Linked DNA regions of Homo sapiens: regions 1 and 3 are each linked to region 2. The links are contacts of gene promoters, found by promoter capture Hi-C in human tissues and cell types (Jung and others, 2019). All regions are on one chromosome and are shown on one strand. The core of a region is centred on a gene start or on the middle of the fragment in contact, and the rest is flanking DNA. Distances in the headings are between cores, read along the strand shown. Region 1 overlaps SPATA2 (spermatogenesis associated 2). Region 2 holds the start of B4GALT5 (beta-1,4-galactosyltransferase 5). Region 3 overlaps SLC9A8 (solute carrier family 9 member A8).

Region 1 (2,700 bases), core at 201-2,700, 200 kb before region 2:
CAATAAATGAGTGAGGTAAATTGGAGAAAGCCCAGGCATCAAGGGCCTCCCAGCAAGAGTTCAGATTCCAGCTCTGACCCTTTCAAACTCTGTTGGGCAGGTTGTTTTAATGGGAAGAGCCTGTTTTCCTTATAGAGTTGTGAGGATTAAATGGGATGATGTAGGTAAAGTGGGAAGCCCAATGCTTAGCACATAGTAGAACCTCAGTAATTGTTAGTCTCTTTCTTTCCTTTCCTTATTGACTGATTGAGACAAGGTCTTGCTCTGTCACCCAGGCCGGAGTGCAGTGGTGCCATCATAGCTCACTGCAGCCTCAAACTCCTGGGCTCAGTGGATCCCCCCACCTCAGACTCCCAAGTAGCTAAGACTACAGGTGGGTGTCACCACACCCACCTAATTTTTTTTTTTTTTTTTTTTGTAGAGACGGAGTCTAACTATGTTGTCCAGGCTTGTCTTGCCCTTAATTATCTTTTAGCTTTTACTTTCTTCCGCCTTTTCCCTCACCTACCCAGGTTGGTTTGAGATTTGTTTTAGATAGGCTTCCTGTCCTTATTGTGAGTATTTTGAACATCAGCTGGGCTGTTTGGATCCCTTTCCTTTATTTATTGTTTTTCAGCAACAAACAAGGGTGTGGACTGTGGTGCGATTATAGAGCAGCAGACGCTGAGCCGAGCTTGAGACTGGCTGACTTTGTAAAAAATCAGTCTCTTTGAGTTCAAGGCTGACTTCCTTGGAGAAAAATTACAGCAGTATTCGGAAGCTTAATGTCTCTGTGTTTGAATGGTTCTCAGACTACCAAAAAACAGACCCTGGGGCCAGAGGCGTGATGGCAGCTTCTCTTAGATAAGTCAAGAATGGTAAATGCATGTGTGACTATCCTCTCCAGTGGTGCAATACATTTATTTATGTAGAGATGGAGTTTTTGCTCTGTTGCCCAGGCTGGAGTGCAATGGCACGATCTCAGCTCACTGCAACCTCTCCCTCCTGGGTTCACGCCATTCTCCTGCCTCAGCCTCCTGAGTAGCTGGGATTACAGGTGTTCGTCCAGCTAATTTTTGTATTTTTAGTAGAGGCGGGGTTTCGCTATGTTGGCCAGGCTAGTCTCAAACTCCCAATCTCAGGCGATCCACCCACCTTGGCCTCCCAGAGTTGTAGGATTACAGGCGTGAGCCACCGCGCCTGGCCTGCATTTTTATTTTTTAAGAGAATATACATTTTAAATTGTTTATTTTTTTATGGACAGAACAGTATGAAGTTAGAGCACATACCTACTTTGATACTAGGTGGTATGCTCTTCCAGCTAGAGCTGCAGGCAGGATGTGTCTCCTTTATTGCTGTCCTCTACCTGTCCCACCCATCCCCATTCCCCGACTGGGTCCAGCTCAGGCAGAGGGTGGGGGCTGCAGAAATGCTTGCTGGACATGGGAATCGTGGGGTGGTGAGAGGAATACAGGTTCCAAGTCAGAAGGCCAGGCTTGGATTATCGGGTCCATCATCTGCTAACCTTGAGCTACTTGTCGTACCTCATGCCATCTTTCTGAGCCCGTTTCTTTGCTCTCCAGCTGATCTCCCAGGATTCTTGGGAGGTACCAATGAGAAACTAAAGTGATGGCATCGTGAATGCAGACATCCTTTGCAGCATCCATTTCTCTTTTTCTCTTTTCTTTTTCTTTTTCTTTTTTTTTTTTTAGAGACGGAGTCTCGCTCTGTTGCCCAGGCTGGAGTGCAATGGGGCGATCTCGGCTCACTGCAGCCTCCGCCTCCTGGGTTCTAGCAATTCTCCTGCCTCAGCCTCCCGAGTAGCTGTGATTACAGGCGCATGCTGCCACACCCGTCTAATTTTTTTTTAAATTTTGGTAGAGACGGGGTTTCACCGTGTTGCCCAGGCTGGTCTCGAACTCCTGAGCTCAGGCAATCCACCTGCCTCGGCCTCCCAAAGTGCTAAGATTACAGGCGTGAGCCACCGTGCCTGGCTGCAGCATCCATTTCACCTACTTTATCAAGCACAGGCAGGCTCTGTGTTAGGCATCGTGGTGAACAACACAGACATGGTCCTTGCCTTTATGGAGCTTACCACGAGCTTACCAGCTTACCAGGGAGGGTGAGGGGTGGACAAAGAGAGGAAGCTAATGAATGAATGAAGTTGATAGTTTCAGATTGTGGTTATCGTAGGAGAATGTGACAGTGTGGAACTGGGAAGGTGAGATAGGGTGGTACCTCTAGAGGCTGATGTTTGAGCTGAGGCCTGAATGATGAGAATCTTCCTGAAGCAGAATTTTATCCCAAGTGGATTTTGTTTTCTTTTGTAAAGACAGGGTATTGCTATGTTGCCCAGGCTGGTCTCGAACTCCTGGCCTTGAGCAATCCTCCTGCCTTGGCCTTCCAAAGTTTAGGGATTACAGGCGTGAGCCCCCGCACCTGGCCCCTAAATGGATGTGTTTGCCTCCTGTACTCCTCAGCCTTATTTGTCACTGTAGCACTGGGCTCCCTCAGCAGTGCAGTGTGTTGGAGACAGTGGCCTCTCTGTGTCCCTAGTTTTGCTACACATCCCACCTCTCACCGCACCATTAGTACTCCCAGGAGTCTCCTCCTGGGGACAAAATCTGTGGAGGAGCCAGACTACTGGCTCTTTGAGATGAGGATGATTTTGTTGACCTCCTGATAGTTGCTGGGCTCGTAGGACCTTCCTAGCTGAACACA
Region 2 (2,700 bases), core at 138-2,637:
TTGTTGATTCTCACAGAATCCCTGCAAAGTCCTCTCCCCTCCCCACTGCTTCTGGCATTCCAAGACAGTACCCTAGTTTCAGATATGTCTACACAGGGACACTGGCCTCCTCAGTCCAGCTCCTTGAGGCTACTGCTTCTTGCCATAAATTTCTAGGACTGTTCATTGCCTTCTGAGGTCCTTTGAGCTGATGCTGATCTGAAAGCATTTTTTTGGATATGGTCCCATACCCAGGTGATGGGGATAGGATACCGATTTGCCTGCAGGATAAGAATTAGAGGTCATACAGACTGCTGAGACAGTTACAACCTAGAGGTCAAGGGCCTGACATGGGAGACAGGCCAGTTTTGATTTAAGCCCTTACTGCAAGGCTTGGGTGAATTGCCTTTCCATCTAGAAACCTCAGTTTCCTCATTTGTATGATAGTAATAATAACAGCACACATCTCAAGACTGGTGGGGGAATTTCATGGCATGAGTGAAGTCCATGTTTCTCAGCAGAAGTCTAGAGACATTGACAATTGTTATCATTATGCTATTTCTGATACAGTAGGATCCCTGACTACAGCTCCAAGCTCATCCCTATTTCCCCCCCTACTTCACTGGATTTTATCCATGTTGGCCTTGGATTCAACTCGGGGGCAGATCAGCCCTTTTCCTACCTCAGGGCCTTTACACCTGCTGTTCCCCCTGGTATGACTGCTTTTTCCCCAGCTTATTCAAAAAAGCTGGCGCTTTCTCACCCTTTTATATCTCAGTTCGTGTCACTGCTCAGTGAGGCCTTCCTTGACCACTCCAGCCTGCCTGCAATACATCCTCCTGTTTTATCGTATTCATATGTGTTACCAGTACCTGATATTACTAGCTGATTTGTTTCTTTTATCTCTCACATAATGTAAGTTTCAAGTAGACAGAGATTTTTATCGTTTTTTTTCTCTGTAGCATGCCCAGCGCCAACAACTGTGTCTGGCATTCAATAAATAAATGGTGAATTGAATGAATGAATGAATGAATGAATGAGGGTGTATACCAGGCCGAACCCCCAAGCCTTGCAGTCCCCACTCTTCTGCTGCAGTGGGCAACGAGATGAGTCAGACTTTGTAGATGGCCCCTTGGCCCCCGAGATGGGGGACGAGCTAGCGCGGAGCACTTGGGAGACATTCCCCGAAAGCCTGGGCGGTGGCCGCACTGGGAGAGGGTCTGTCGCCATTTGGCGATTACTCCATGCGGGCTGCTGTGGGCGCCGAGCGAGGGTCGGCGGCGAGCGCAAGCGCGCGGGTCTTTTGCGACGGTGCCCGGCGGCACTGGCCCCGCCTCCCGCGCGTGCGCCCCGCCTCCGCCCCCGCCGCTGCGCCCGCTCGGGGCCGCTCTGGCCCCCGCCCGCTTCATGTGGCCCGGCCCGCGACGGCCGGCGGCTGGGAGCGGCGAGGCGGCGGCGGCGGCGAGTGGCGGCCCGCGAGGCCCGGGAGGCGGTGGCCGAGGCCCAGGCGGTGGCGGCGGCGGCCCAGGAGGCGGCGGACGGGGAGCTGCGGGAGCAGGCCCGGCCTGGCTCTCTAGCGGCCGCCTGGCTGCAGCATGCGCGCCCGCCGGGGGCTGCTGCGGCTGCCGCGCCGCTCGCTGCTCGCCGCGCTCTTCTTCTTTTCTCTCTCGTCCTCGCTGCTGTACTTCGTCTATGTGGCGCCCGGCATAGGTAGGAAGGGGGCTTGGGACCGCGGCGGCTGCCGCTCTGGCCTTGAGGGACCCGGGGAATCCCCGCCCCTCCCTAAGGGGCCCCGGCCGGGAGGCGGCCCTGAGCCTGGTCCTCCGAAGACTCCGGAGTCCTGGCCCGGCTCTCGGGGACGCCAGGACATTCCTGCCCTCCGCACCCCAACAGGCGCCCGGGATCCCTCTCCCGCGCCAGCCTCCGGCCCACCCCGCCCCTCCTAACGCCACCCTCGCGAACCCGACTGTACCTTCACGCCCGCCCCTTGCTCCGGAACCCCCTTCCCGCTCTTGCCTCGCTGGAACTCCCACTTCCCGCTCCTCTGCTCGAGAACTCCCGCTTCCCCTTCCCTTCCCCGGGGTCTCCTCGAACCCCCATTCCCGGCATTCCCCGCACCCCAGTCCCCCGCGGCGCGCCCGCTCTTCGCCGAGCCCATGTGCCCGGGTCCCAGGCCGCCCCACCTTCTAGCTCCCATCCATCCTCCCCCACTCCCCATGACTCCATCGTTTCCTGCTCCCGTGAGCCCCCTCCCTCCCCTTTCTTCCTCTACTTCCCCTATTACATCCACCTCCAGGTCCTCCTCCCTAACTCACGTTCACCTCTTCAGTGGCCTGATCTCTCTGCCTGCCGGTGGCACCCCCCTTCCCCTTACAGAGGTCCACCCCCATTCAATCTCCTGCTAATCCCCTGAGCGTCCCATGCCTCTTCCCCATCTCCCCCCCCCCCACCTCGCGTACCCACAAGGGCACATCCTTGTCACCTTTGCCCCCAGCCCCCCAGACTTTCAGCCACAGCTTCTTTCTCAACTGAAGACCTGGGGAAGGGGTGCTGTCTGTGTTCTTTCTTCCACTTCTGCCCTCTCCTAGCCTTGAGGGTAGATGGTGTGGTTCTTCAGTATTGGATAGTGCCTGCTCTGCGGACAAAGGAGAAGTTTAAATTGTCCGTAGAGAAGGGGATATGATTGGGGCCTTTGGGAAATGGTACCAGGTGAGAAGGGGG
Region 3 (2,700 bases), core at 158-2,657, 160 kb before region 2:
GAACAGCATAATGACTAAAGAGATTAAAACTGTATATATATTTTTTTAGAGACAGAGTCTCACTCTGTCTCCCAAGCTGGAATGTAGTGGCACGATCTCGGCTCACTGCAACCTCCGCCTCCTGGGTTCAAGCAATTCTCCTGCCTCAGCCTCCCAAGCAGCTGGGATTACAGGCGCTCGCCACCACGCCCAGCTATTTTTTTTTTTTTTTTTTTCAGTAGAGACAGGGTTTCACTGTGTTGGCCAGGCTGGTCTCAAACTCCTGACCTTGTGATCCGCACACCTTGGCCCCCCTCAAAGTGCTGGGATTACAAGCATAAGCCACCGCGCCTGGCCTAAAACTGTATTTTAAAATAGTTGATCACAAACAGCAAGGCTGTTTTACATTCTAACAATGTTTTTCCTTTGAATGGTACCCAAGTTTAAAACAAGTCCACAAGCTGGAGAATTTACCCCCCCTTCTCTCTCTGAAATTTTTTTCTTATCTAATATTTGTGTGATCTTTCCAAATGAGCACATTTAGAAGACATTCAGATCTAGTGGATGCTTTTCCCTGGCAGCATCAACTCCAGGATCTGGATACATCACGGTATCCATTTGCTCTGAATTTCTGCCACTTTGCCACAGTTGGGACCCTTGCTAATGAAGGTGTTCAGTAAACAGGCAGAATTGTGTTTATCATCTTCCCTTGGCGGGATAATGTTTATTTGCAGAGAAATTTGACAGTTTTTCTGTCACATTTGACAAATTGTCAAAATTCGACAATTTTTCTAATGCCCAATCCTCTATGGATGGATATTTAGACTGTTTTTATTTCTGAGAGGTTCAACAAACACCCCAGTATGGGCTAAATTCCACAGGGTTGGACTGTTGGGCCAAAGAGCACGTGCCTTTTAAATTCAGACAGACGTGGCAAATGACTCTCCAGAAAAGATTCCAGTAGGCCTGTTTTCCACACGCCAAGGCCAGAAGTGGGTATTATCAAACTTAACATTTGCCAAACTGCTGGGTACAAAATAGAATCTTTTTGGATGGACGATTTGCTTTATGTGTCTTTAACTGGGAGGCTCAGGGTCAGAATCTGTAGCCTGGCTTTCTGAGAGAGGTGCTGTACAAATAATACCCTCTGGCCCAGGAATAAAGAGACCTGGCCTGCATACCCACTTCTTGGCCATGAGACCATGGGCAAGTCATGTGACTACTCCTCACCTGAGCCTCCTTATCTGCTGAAGTTTCTGCCTGGGTTGCCTTTGCCTCCTAGCACGCTAACAGTGTGGAAGTAGCAATTAAAAATGAGACAAGTGGCCGGGTGCGGTGGCTCATGCCTGTAATCCCAGCACTTTGGGAGGCCGAGGCAGGTGGATCACAAGGTCAGGAGATCGAGACCATCCTGGCTAACACGGTGAAACCCTGTCTCTACTAAAAATACAAAAAACAAAATTAGTCAGGCATGGTGGCGGGCACCTATAGTCCCAGCTACTCCGGAGGCTGAGGTAGGAGAATGGCATGAACCCGGGAGGCGGAGCTTGCAGTGAGCTGAGATCACGCCACTGCACCCCAGCCTGGGCGACACAGCAAGACTCCATCTCAAAAAAAAAAAGAGACAAGTCCCTCAAAATGCCAGGGGTGATTTTGATGACAGCTAGGGCAAAGTCACTTGGGGGCCAGCTTAAAGGGACATGGTGAGAGCTGTTCCCCGACTCCAACCACTTCCAAGTATAAAGTTGGTGGGGAGATACATGGGTATGTCGGAGCGTGGGGGAACAAGAACTTGAACAAACTGCTTAAAGACAAAGCCATCGTGGTTTATCCCAGCCCAACAAATGACACCTCTACTGCGAACTGTCCCCGAGTGATGTCCCTCAGGCTGCTCTTGTGAATAAAGGATTCTGTGGACAAGTTTGGAAAATTCTATAACTATATCCCCCGTTAAGGATTTGACAATCCATTATTTGCTGAAAAGTCTGGCAATTCATAAATGTTAAACTTTATTTAACCAGGATTTCCTAAACTCTTGTTTGACTACAAAAGCTTTGTTTTTCTTTCTTTCTTTTTTTTTTTTTTTTTAAGATCATAGCCCACTGCAGCCTTGAACTCCTGGGCTCAAGTGATCCTCTCAGTCTCCCAAGCAGCTGGGATTACAGGTGTGAGCCCCATGCCTTGCTTGACTATGGAGCCATTTTCACCAAACCATCATTAATATTTTATTTCCAAGGAATACATTTTTGGAAATGTCACATTAATACATTAAAAATGCATGTATCAAATGTTCATAATTGGTTCTCACTATTTTTGGTCTTTAAATTGTAGGCGCCAGATGTTCATTTATTAGGTGTTTGGTTTACTTTATGAAATTTCAAAGCCAGAGGAACAAACAAAAGATAAGGGAGTGAGGGATCTGGCTCTGAGGAGCTGCTGCCCTGCTGCCAGGGAAAGTCTCAACTGACTTCTCAAACAGGATAAGGAAGCAAGATCAGCTCTGGGTGGGCCTGCTCACGGCCACACAGAAGCAGAACTCACCACATAAGAAGGCCACGGTGCGGAGGGTCTGCTGCATGAGGATCTGGGTGACTGGGGAGAGGTTATGGTGCGTGTAGTGGGACATCACGATGCCTGAGAAAAGGATGGCCATGATGCCTAGAGAGGGAGAGAACAGAACAGAAAGCACTGCCGTGTGATCCCCAACTCAGATCTCACAAT

Evidence for each region. Contacts are between HindIII fragments. The study calls those that stand out against the background at their distance.
Region 1: a contact is called between a fragment that was not itself captured here and the fragment with the promoter of B4GALT5 in region 2, in 1 of the 25 tissues and cell types used here (spleen).
Region 3: a fragment that was not itself captured here is called in contact with the fragment with the promoter of B4GALT5 in region 2 in 2 of the 25 tissues and cell types used here (dorsolateral prefrontal cortex and mesendoderm cells).

The regions. Positions count from the first base shown.
Region 1 is chr20:49,910,657-49,913,356 of GRCh38, reverse strand. All of the region lies in intron 1 of SPATA2 (spermatogenesis associated 2), which reads left to right. Among named protein-coding and RNA genes, the nearest start is that of SPATA2, 3.5 kb to the left of the region's middle. The HindIII fragment of the contact is 3,455 bases long and covers 1-2,700 here.
Region 2 is chr20:49,712,565-49,715,264 of GRCh38, reverse strand. It overlaps B4GALT5 (beta-1,4-galactosyltransferase 5), which reads left to right and starts at 1,387. Exons shown (of 9, transcript NM_004776.4): 1 at 1,387-1,689. The coding sequence starts at 1,575. RefSeq lists silencers at 1,175-1,504, 1,795-1,914. The HindIII fragment of the contact is 30,885 bases long and covers 1-2,700 here.
Region 3 is chr20:49,874,642-49,877,341 of GRCh38, reverse strand. It overlaps SLC9A8 (solute carrier family 9 member A8), which reads right to left. Exons shown (of 16, transcript NM_015266.3): 11 at 2,521-2,637. Among named protein-coding and RNA genes, the nearest start is that of MIR12122, 12 kb to the right of the region's middle. The HindIII fragment of the contact is 4,147 bases long and covers 1-2,700 here.